Linked DNA regions of Homo sapiens: region 1 is linked to region 2. Evidence: promoter capture Hi-C in 16 types of primary human blood cells and fetal thymus (Javierre and others, 2016). All regions are on one chromosome and are shown on one strand. The core of a region is centred on a gene start or on the middle of the fragment in contact, and the rest is flanking DNA. Distances in the headings are between cores, read along the strand shown. Region 1 holds the start of DUSP11 (dual specificity phosphatase 11). Region 2 holds the start of EGR4 (early growth response 4).

What was found. Contacts are between HindIII fragments. The CHiCAGO score rates a contact against its expected background, and 5 or more counts as called.
Region 1: a contact is called between a fragment that was not itself captured here and the fragment with the promoter of EGR4 in region 2, in 1 of 17 cell types (fetal thymus). The highest score is 5.4, in fetal thymus.

Annotation. Positions count from the first base shown.
Region 1 is chr2:73,776,578-73,781,354 of GRCh38, forward strand. DUSP11 (dual specificity phosphatase 11) reads right to left here and starts at 3,526. Exons shown (of 9, transcript NM_003584.3): 1 at 3,297-3,526; 2 at 1,724-1,799. The coding sequence starts at 3,397. RefSeq lists enhancers at 3,018-3,167, 3,298-3,347, 3,428-3,497. The HindIII fragment of the contact is 2,270 bases long and covers 924-3,193 here.
Region 2 is chr2:73,290,532-73,295,200 of GRCh38, forward strand. It overlaps EGR4 (early growth response 4), which reads right to left and starts at 3,017. Exons shown (of 2, transcript NM_001965.4): 1 at 2,651-3,017; 2 at 398-2,250. The coding sequence starts at 2,786. The coding sequence ends at 926. RefSeq lists an enhancer at 608-1,303 and a silencer at 3,300-3,379. The HindIII fragment of the contact is 1,844 bases long and covers 2,533-4,376 here.

The sequences.
Region 1 (4,777 bases), core at 809-3,308, 490 kb after region 2:
TGAAGAACCAACTCTGACACATCGTTATCACCAAAGTCTAGAGGTTAGGTATGCGTGATTCATTCTATGTTATGCATTGTATGTACATATTATGTTATATATATTTTGCCACAAAAAAAATGAGAGAAAGAACTAAGTTCAAGTTTTGATTCTTCCTTTTCTGAGCCTGTTTGATTATCTACAAAATTATTTATTAGATGTAACCATCTATTCTCTGAGCTTAGTGCAGAATAAGCACTCAGTAAGAGATATTAGTACTACTGCTACTTCATCAGCACAGGATTGTTGTGAAATGTGTTAATATACGTGAAGCCCTTTTATAGGTTTTGATCAATATATAACATGTATCCACCCTTAGAGTATCACACAGAATAGTTTCACTTCCCTAAAAATTCCCTGTGTCTCCAACACCTTCTTTTTGGAGACAGGGTCTTGCTCTGTTGCCCAGGCTGGAGTACAGTGGCATGATCATGGCTCACTGCAGCCTTGACCTCCTGGGTTCAATCGATCCTCCCACTTCAGCCTCCTGAGCAGCTGAGACTACAAGCACACGCCACCGCGCCTGGTTAATTTTTGTATTTTTTGTAGAGACACGGTTTCAGTGTTGCCCAGGCTGGTCTAAAACTCCTGGACTCAAGCGATACACCCACCTTGCCTCCCAAAGTACTGGATTACAAACATGATCCAACAGGCCTGGCCTGAAATGACTCATTTTTAAGCCCAGACATGCAGAGAAGCTGACACAGCAGTTGAAAAAGGAAATCTGATCTATAAGTCACAAATTAAGTAAATTCCCAAAACGTTTCAAGTAGGCTTCTCCTGATACTAATCTGAGCTATGCTGGGGAAGTCTAATAAGAAAGACATGGAATCTAGAAAACAATTATTTGTCTTCACCTTCTCATCTTTTTTATGGCTGTCAAAAGCTTTCCCCTCCTATCCCTCCTATTCCTTTCCTAGTTTAAACAAAAATACAATCTTCAGATTTTCCCCACTGAAATCCTGACCTTGATGATCCGGGGGATATTTCTGATTGTGACCATGGAAGGAAAGGAGTCCCACTGGCATTCAGTGGGTAAGGGTTACAAATTCTAAACAACTTGCCAAATTCAGGACAGTCCTACAAATGTGTCCCACATCCTGAATGGCTTTTGGATGTCCTATTCAAGATTAATATAGATAAAAAGCTGTTCATATTTAGCTTGGCCTCAGAACCTAACTCCATTTCACAAATAAACACAAAGTATTTTTTGTACAATACTAATATATATTGAATTTTCCAGGATAATAATCACCTTATCAACCAAATGAAGATTATACTTTGTTATATTTGGAAATCTATTACAGAAACTCCTACCACTAAAGCAATACAACCCACCTAGATCAGTCTACATTTGTAATTCTTGAATTCATGGCGCAGGCAACTATTACTCTATGTCTTTTAATGTAGTCATGTCCAAACATTTATATATTGAAATAAATATTATTTTATTATAAATTACTTTTATTTTATTTTTTATATTATAGTTAGGGTGTTAATTGGTATTTTTGTTTAAAATATGAAGTAGGTTGTATGTACCTATGAACTTCATTTCAGGATAGTAAAGGGGTCATTACAAAGTATTTGCTATAAAAAGAGAAAATGGAATGTGATAGAGTGGAGAGCAGTGTTCTGCATGGTGAACTCAGATGCCTGAAAGAATACTGAATTAACTTTTGCTTACCTTTTGCAAAGGAACTTTGAAAGCAATGAAACGAGTCCCAGGCATCCGCTGTCCAACTGGGAGATAGTCTTTCCACCTATTAGATATATTTTTTGTTAGCCAAATTGTATGTTAGCCTTGTTTCCTTGCACAAAATAAGACTTTTTGAAAATGGGAATCATAGCCCGCACAACATGTCCTCTCTCCTCTCTGCTTTGCATTTCGCCACTCCACTTATTAAACCCCACCAAGTAACGACCTATACCGTCCTTCTCTCCTGTTTCCCCATCATAAAAACGAACACAAGCCAACACAACAGTACAACTCAAATAAGGCCTATATAAAACCGGAGATACCCAGAACTTCTGTATCCCTGTTAAACTTGGCCCAGTACCAGATACTAAAGTGCCATTAATACAAACATATTCACTGAAATAATTTAAATTCAATTATTTCACTTCACGCTTTTAGTTTTCATACGACTGATGCCATAAAGTTCAATTAGTAGGAAACTTCAAGTTCATATTTTAAGAGAAAACCTGCTAGAAGAGGGACTGTGAACTTCACTTAATAATGCTAGGAACTGGCCGGGCGCGGTGGCTCACGTCTGTTAATCCCGGCAATTTGGGAGGCTGAGGCAGGTGGATCACCTGAGGTCAGGAGTTCGAGACCAGCCTGACCCACATGGTGAAACCCCATCTCTACTAAAAATACAAAAAAAATTAGCCGGGTGTGGTGGCGGGCGCCTGTAATCCCAGCAACTTGGGCGGCTGAGGGAGGAGAATCGCTTGAATCCGGGAGGCGGAGGTTGCAGTGAGCCGAGATTGGACCATTGCACTCCAGCCTGGCGGAGAAGAGCAAAAATCCATCCCAAAAACAAAAACAAAAAAACGGATTGGAAGAAAACAAACAGGAGATTCACTAATTAGAACCCCACTGCAATAAGTCAGGCAAGACCTGTATTAGGGTACTGACAGAAAGTGACAGTCAAAAGATAGTAGATAAAATGAAGAGGATTTATTGAGGTATGAGATGGTGGAGGATGGTCTCAAGGAGTAAAAACAGTTCAATGCACCTACGTGCAAAGTCTCAAAATTAATCATTTGTACGTATAAAGGAGTTATCTTTCAAATGAGGCCTGTTAGGAAGTAACAAAGTATGCTCTTTGTGATTTCTGGAAACAATACAAACCAACTTTCCATGTGAGATCTCAGGGCGCTACTACTGCTGGGTTCCTAACTCAAACCATTACACTTTCCGTGCCAACGTAACAAGGAATTGAGGAGGTTCCATTTTGGGAATTAAGGAGTGTCCCCAACAGTAACAGTCCCACCTTAAAGCAATCCTTCCGTATTTTACCTAAGAGCAATGGCCAGAACCTCCCTTTTACAAGAATATGGAGAAATCACAGGACATCACAGACATCGCCCCTTTCAGCTACAGCGGGTGGCGCAGAGGGTCAAAGCCTCAAAGCAAGCGGCGGACAAGTCAAGCTTGCGATGGCAACGGCGAGAGGCAGAGACCACAAACGATGAAGCCCAGACCCAGAAGCCACGAGCTGGAAAGGCCACGCCAAGGGACCAAGACATACTACCTTTCGGGGATGTGGTTTCCGCCCTTCTTCTTGGCTGAGGAGCGTCCTGAAAAGTCGCGTCTCCGGCCCCAGCCACTGCGGGGATGATGCCACTGGCTCATGTGGGTCCCAAGAAGCCGCCCACCCAATGCCAAGTCGGCCAAAAGCGCCAGTCCGGCGCCCTCAATGCCAGGATAAGACCCTAAACAGGAAAAGACTCGGCAGCCACCTACGCCGCGCTCCAGCGTCTCGCTATTGCGCATGTGCCACCGCCGGTCGTGATGGCGTAGCCACGCTGGCTTACTGAGACTCCTGATCTGTAAACAGGACTTTGGTGGCTACAGCGCCCTCTTTAGCCAGAGGCCAGTAGCACAGGTCAATAAGGGCGTGTATGCACCCTTCAGAATTCAAACAGTGAGGCACAGGGAAGTCCCTCTGCCCGATCCGCCCCACGCCCCGGTTCCTTGTGTGTTCTTCTAGATATTTACCAGCGCTTACATTCACATTTTGCATATTTTGTATACATATTTACTTTCACATATATGTATATCCTCTATTTTTATACAAAAGGAGTAACTGTACATATTCTACAGTATACCTTAAACACTGATTATCCCAGTCAATTTATGCATACATAGATTCTATTTTTAATGGCTATAGGCAATTTACTTGCTTATGAGTAACATAATTAAAAGTACCATAACGTATTTAGCCAGTTCAATATTAATGGACCTTTAGTTGTTTTCAGGTTCTTTTCAAATCTTGTTACAGACAATGCTGCAATGTGAACATCCTTATACATATATACAACTATATCTAAATTCCTAGAAGTAGAATGTCTGGAATGAAACACATACAAACTTAAAATTTGGAAAGATACTACCTAATTACCCTCCAAAAATAATGTAGAAACATACACTCCCATCAAAGCCAAACTTTTATTGGGTTCCTATCACATACCAGGTATCATGCTAGAGGTGGACAGAATGTATTTAAGTTTTAGCAAATACAAAAAATAACTGAGAGTGGAGCTCAAGTCCAAGGTTTCCACACAGTCTCAAGCATAAAGATCTGTACCCGTTAGAAAAACGTTCAATTCTGCTAAAAGTGGAACTACAAAGGACAGCATACCCTATAGCAGCTTTGAAAATAGAATAGAGTACTAAATTCCAGATTAAACTGTAAGTAATTATGATTGCAGACTTTTTTTTTTTTTTTTTGAGACCCAGTCTCACTCTGCCACCAGGCTGGAGTGCAGTGGTGCCATCTCAGCTCACTGCAACCTCCGCCTCCCGGGTTCAAGCAATTCTCCCTGCCTCAACCTCCTGAGTAGCTGGGACTACAGGTGCATGCCACGACTCCCAGCCAATTTTTTGTATTTTAGTAGAGACAGGGTTTCTCCATGTTGGCCAGGATGGTCTCGATGTCTTGACCTCATGATCAGCACTCCTCGACCTCCGAAAGTGCTGGGATTACAGGCTTGAGCCACCGCACCTGGCCAA
Region 2 (4,669 bases), core at 1,767-4,266:
GTTCCTAGCCTGGGTTAACTACATTGTTCCAGCAAGCTATCTACATTGCTTCCACATCTTTGAAATGAGGTATATGCCTGCTTTATTTGGGAATGCGAGGATTAAGGAGAATAATATATACATAATGTTGAACACCTACGCCTTTTAACCACTTTGAAGTTCCAGAAACACCTCCAGCCCTTAGGTGAGCTGTGATTAAATTCGTTCATTAACCCAACACACATTTACTGAATGCCTACTCTGTGCCGCAGTTCCTGGCAGGTGTGCCTGACAGTGGGTGTGTAATATGTTCAGGGTCTGTATCCCATGAGCGTGGGGATCTCCTTTATCTTCTGGCACATATGGTCCTGGGGGAGAAGCTAAGGGGAAGGGTCAGGAGCTTACATGGCAGATTCAGTAAGCTTTTAGCACAATAATTTTAATTGCAAAAATAAACAGTTTTGTCAACTGCTTGAGAGTAGCGTCTGCTTTACAAAAATTAACAACAACAAAAGGAAAAAAAACCCAAAGCAAAACGTTACATCCAATGGCTGCTGGATAAGACACTGCTGTACAAAGTCCCGCGCGAGACCGCCTTGGCGCTGCCCCAGCCTGTCTCTGGGGGTTATAGAGGAAGGCGTGGGGCGTGTGCCAGTTACAAAAGACTGTCTTGAATCCCAGGGTAGTGCCTATTCACTGGGTGGTCTCAGAAGACTTCCCCCAAAGCGCGGCTGACAAGGGTGACAGCGCCTGGACCGCGGGAACTGTCCGCGGAGCTGGTGCTGAATAGGGCGTGTGCGGCGGGCGCTTCAAGGAAACTGGAAGCGGGACCGGAGGCCGGCCCTCGGGCGTGCGAGGAGGAGTTGGAAGAAGAGCGGGGAGGGGAACGGCCCGGAACTCGTGCGCGCCGAACGGCGGCGCCCCAACCCATAAACCCATCTCTTGCTCAGAGAGAAGCGAAGGAGAGGCCCAGCGAGTAAAAGCCGAGGCCCTTGAGCCGCTCCTCGGCGCGCGCCTTCTGCTTGAGGTGCACCTTGCTGTGCCGTTTCTTCTCATCGCTGCGCGCGAAGCGGCGGCCGCACACGTCGCAAGCAAAAGGCTTCTCGCCGGTGTGGGTGCGCACGTGCGTGGTGAGGTGGTCGCTGCGGCTGAAGTTGCGGAGGCAGATGCGGCACTGGAAGGGTTTGTGGCCCGTGTGGATGCGCAGGTGGCGATTGAGCTCGTCGGAGCGCGCAAAGCTCCGCACACAACTCTCCACCGGGCAAGCGAAGGCCTTGGCGTGCGGCCGCGGGCAGAAGCAGCGCGTGCTGCATTTGCCGCCGCGGCGCCCCTTGCGTCGCGCCTTGGCCTGGGGGAAAGGGGTGGGCGGCGGCGGCGGCACGGGTGGTGCAGCCACGCCACTGCTTCCAGGGATGTCCGCCACCAGAGGTTTAGGGAAGTCCGCCGCGGCGGCGCTGCGAAGGCCCAGCGGGGAAAGCTGAGGCTGCGTACTGGCCAGAAACTCTCCGCCGTCGCCGCTACTCCCTCCCTCCCCACTAGGAGGGGTCAGGAGCCCAGGGAGGCCCTCAGCCCCCTCCCCTAAGTCACCCGGGGCCAGCGGGAAAGCGTCATAGGCCCCGCTGGGATAGAGTCTGTTGGCTGGGACGGCCGGCAGTTCCGCAGGGCAGCTGATGGACAGCAAGTCCTCAATCTTGGTCCCTATTACGGGAAAACGAGCCTCCGGGGCGGCCTGGTAGTCTCCCTGTGACCCACAGTTCCCTGGGGCCCCCACAGAAAGCAGCTCCCAGGGCGCGTAGGGACCCTTGAAGGCAGAGACAGCGTCCAGCGCTGGCGAGGCGGGAGGCGCCCGGAGGCCGGGCTTGACGTCGGGCGGGGAGAGCTGAGGCTCATACAGGCACTGCGAGGGGGCACCCGCGCAAGGCGAGGCCTCCCAGAACGCCTCTGGGAAAGGGGCAGCGCCCAGATCCGGGGAGTAAAGGTCCGGCGGACCCGGCAGCAAGGCATCGGACCCCGCAGGAAAAGGGGCATCCAGCGGGGATCTGGACGCTGCTGCCTCTGGACCGGGGAAGGGTGCCAGGCCTAAGATGCCCGACATGAGGTTGAAGAGTGCCTCCGGGTCGTGCGGGTGTTCGGGCACTGCCTGAATGAAGAAGCTACCGCTGTAGCTGAGGCCGGGAGGGGGTGTGGGCGCAGGCCCCTCCAGGAAGCAGGAGTCGGCTAAGTCCCCACTTGCGCCGCAGCTGTTCAAAGCCCAGCTCAAGAAGTCGCCTGCTGAGGAGGGAGCAGGAATCAGCTCTGGGCACATCAAAGGGTGCACCTGAGTCCACAGCCCCTACCTACAAAACTCTTGGTGCCCACGGATATACACAAAGTGCCTTTTGCACATTCTGATTCAGCAGGGGCCCGCATACGTCCCAAGGAGCACATAGAAACATGCACACGCAAAACACACGTGCACAGGCAAAAGGGCGCTCCGATAACCGCACAGGTTCCTGCGGAGGCGCTGGCGGCCCAGTGTGGGTGGGAATGGGGGTGCGCACCCCAGGACTCCTAAGCTTCCCATCGCCCCTATTCTCATAGCTCCAATGTCCCAGTCCCTCCTGGTTCTCAGGTATGGTGCGCCCCCGCGCTGCGCCGTCGTCGTCTGAGCACCCCTGCTCGCCCTCCTTACCTCCAGGGTAGCCGGTGGCCGCGGGAGCGTCCCTGGCAGGCAGCCGGGGCAATTCAGCGCTGGGTTCGGCGCAACAGCCTTCAGTGGACTTGACGAGGAGCGCGTCGGGTTCGGAAAACTCGCTAAGGTGGAGCATGGCGCGGCGCCGGCTGTGGGGCGCCCGGGGCCTCGCCCGCTGGGCTTGGGGGCGCGCGGGTGGCGGGGAGGCTGGCGGTAGGGGTTCCCCGCAGCGCACAGACCTAGGCGCCCGGGCTCCTGGCTTCGGGCACTCACCTCTGGGAAAGGAGTCGGGGAGCCGCGGCGCCCTCGCTCGCCCGCACCGGCCTCGGGCGGCGGCTCCTCGCCTCTCCAAAGCGCTGCCGGGCTCCCCCAGCCCACAGCCCCCCCACTTATATAGCTGCGGCGGCGCTGGCTCCGGGCTTCCGACTCCCCGGGCCACTGCCATTTTGGGAGGCCCCGGCCCTGCCGCCGTGACGTAAATGCCCAAACATGGACACAGGATGTGTGCCGGGGACTCCCGAAAAGGAAAGCTCGAGCTGTGACGTTGTTGTTGTCGCCGCCGCCGCCAGGCTCGCGCCGCTGCGTGCGCGCGCGCTCCCCAGGCGTGGAGCGCTGGGGCCGCGGATGCGCCAGTCTGGGGCGCTGCGCCTCACCGGGCCGACCGTCCGGTAGATGCGCTTCCCACCTGGAGGCAGAGGCCGAGGGGCAGCAGGGGAGGACCGTGTTGGGTTTGAATCTGCCCTCTGCCACTAACTAGCTTGACACTCAGTCCCCCTTAACGTCAGTTTCTCACCTGTGCATTTCCTGTGGAGAGAAACTGAGAGCACATAAATGTCCAGGCGCACTCAGTAAACCACAGAGATTATTGCCATTCATTTCTTTTGCTCACGCCTGTGTGTTTTTCCATTTTAAGTTTTTTTTTTTTAAATTTGTGCTAGGAAAAATAATTTAAATTAAAAAGGACTGTAATACTTGTTAACAGTAGGAGGAAAGTCAACTAGCACAACAGGGTATATTCTAAATTGAAAAGTAAAAGTCCCTCCTCTCCACCTACCTTCATTCCTAGCTCCTGAGGTAGCCACATTTAAGTTTCTTGGGTATTCTTTCAGAAGAATTTTATGTATATCCAACCATACACATTGTTCTGCAATATTATTATTATTATTATTTTTTCACTTGAAATAACTTAGAGATTGTGCCATGTCCTGACATAAAGATCTTGTCATTCTTTTTCAAGGCTGTATAGTACTCCATTGTAAGGGAGGACCTTGAGTTAGTCGATTTGTCCCCTATCCATGAGCATGTAGGCAGTTTCCAACTTTTTACTTATACCAATGTTGTTGGAGTCAACATCCTTGACTATATAAATGTGAATGTGTCTGTGAGATAAATTCCAACGAGTGTAATTGTGTGCCAAAGTATATGTAAAATTTTGATAGACAACTGGCAAATTGTCTTCCAGAAAAGTAGGGCCAATTCCTGCTCACTCCTCCCTCACCCACAGGGTATGAGATGCTTCTGCAGAACATTTTTTCTGCCTTCATACAAATGGCTTTCGCTCTAAGGATGTTGATCCCAGCAACACACAGGGAATCCGTGGGAAATATCTCCCTGGAATCAGTACTTGAAATAATTGGGCTTCTTTTGAGAAAAAAAAAAAAAATCCTAGCCTTAAGGAGGCTGTGAATCTTGGCTGCAGAAGCATCAGAGCCAACTCCAGCAAAGAAGCTTGCCTACTCTCCTAGTCTCATCTCTCTTCTGCTGTGGTTTTCCCTCTGTCTCATTCTCTCATTCTTTTTAAAATGTTTATTTTATTTTGTATTATAGCTCACTTAACTCCTTTCTGGAACCAAATTAAATAAATACATGGGGGGGAAGGATTAAATAAATACATGGAATAGCATGTTCTTCTTTATGAAGAGCATCAATTCCTGAGACTCTGTGTGCTGGAGGGTAAGGTGGGCAGGTTTAGGGCTCCTCCTTCCTTCTCTCCTTTTTTGAAATAGAAACAAAGCCCTT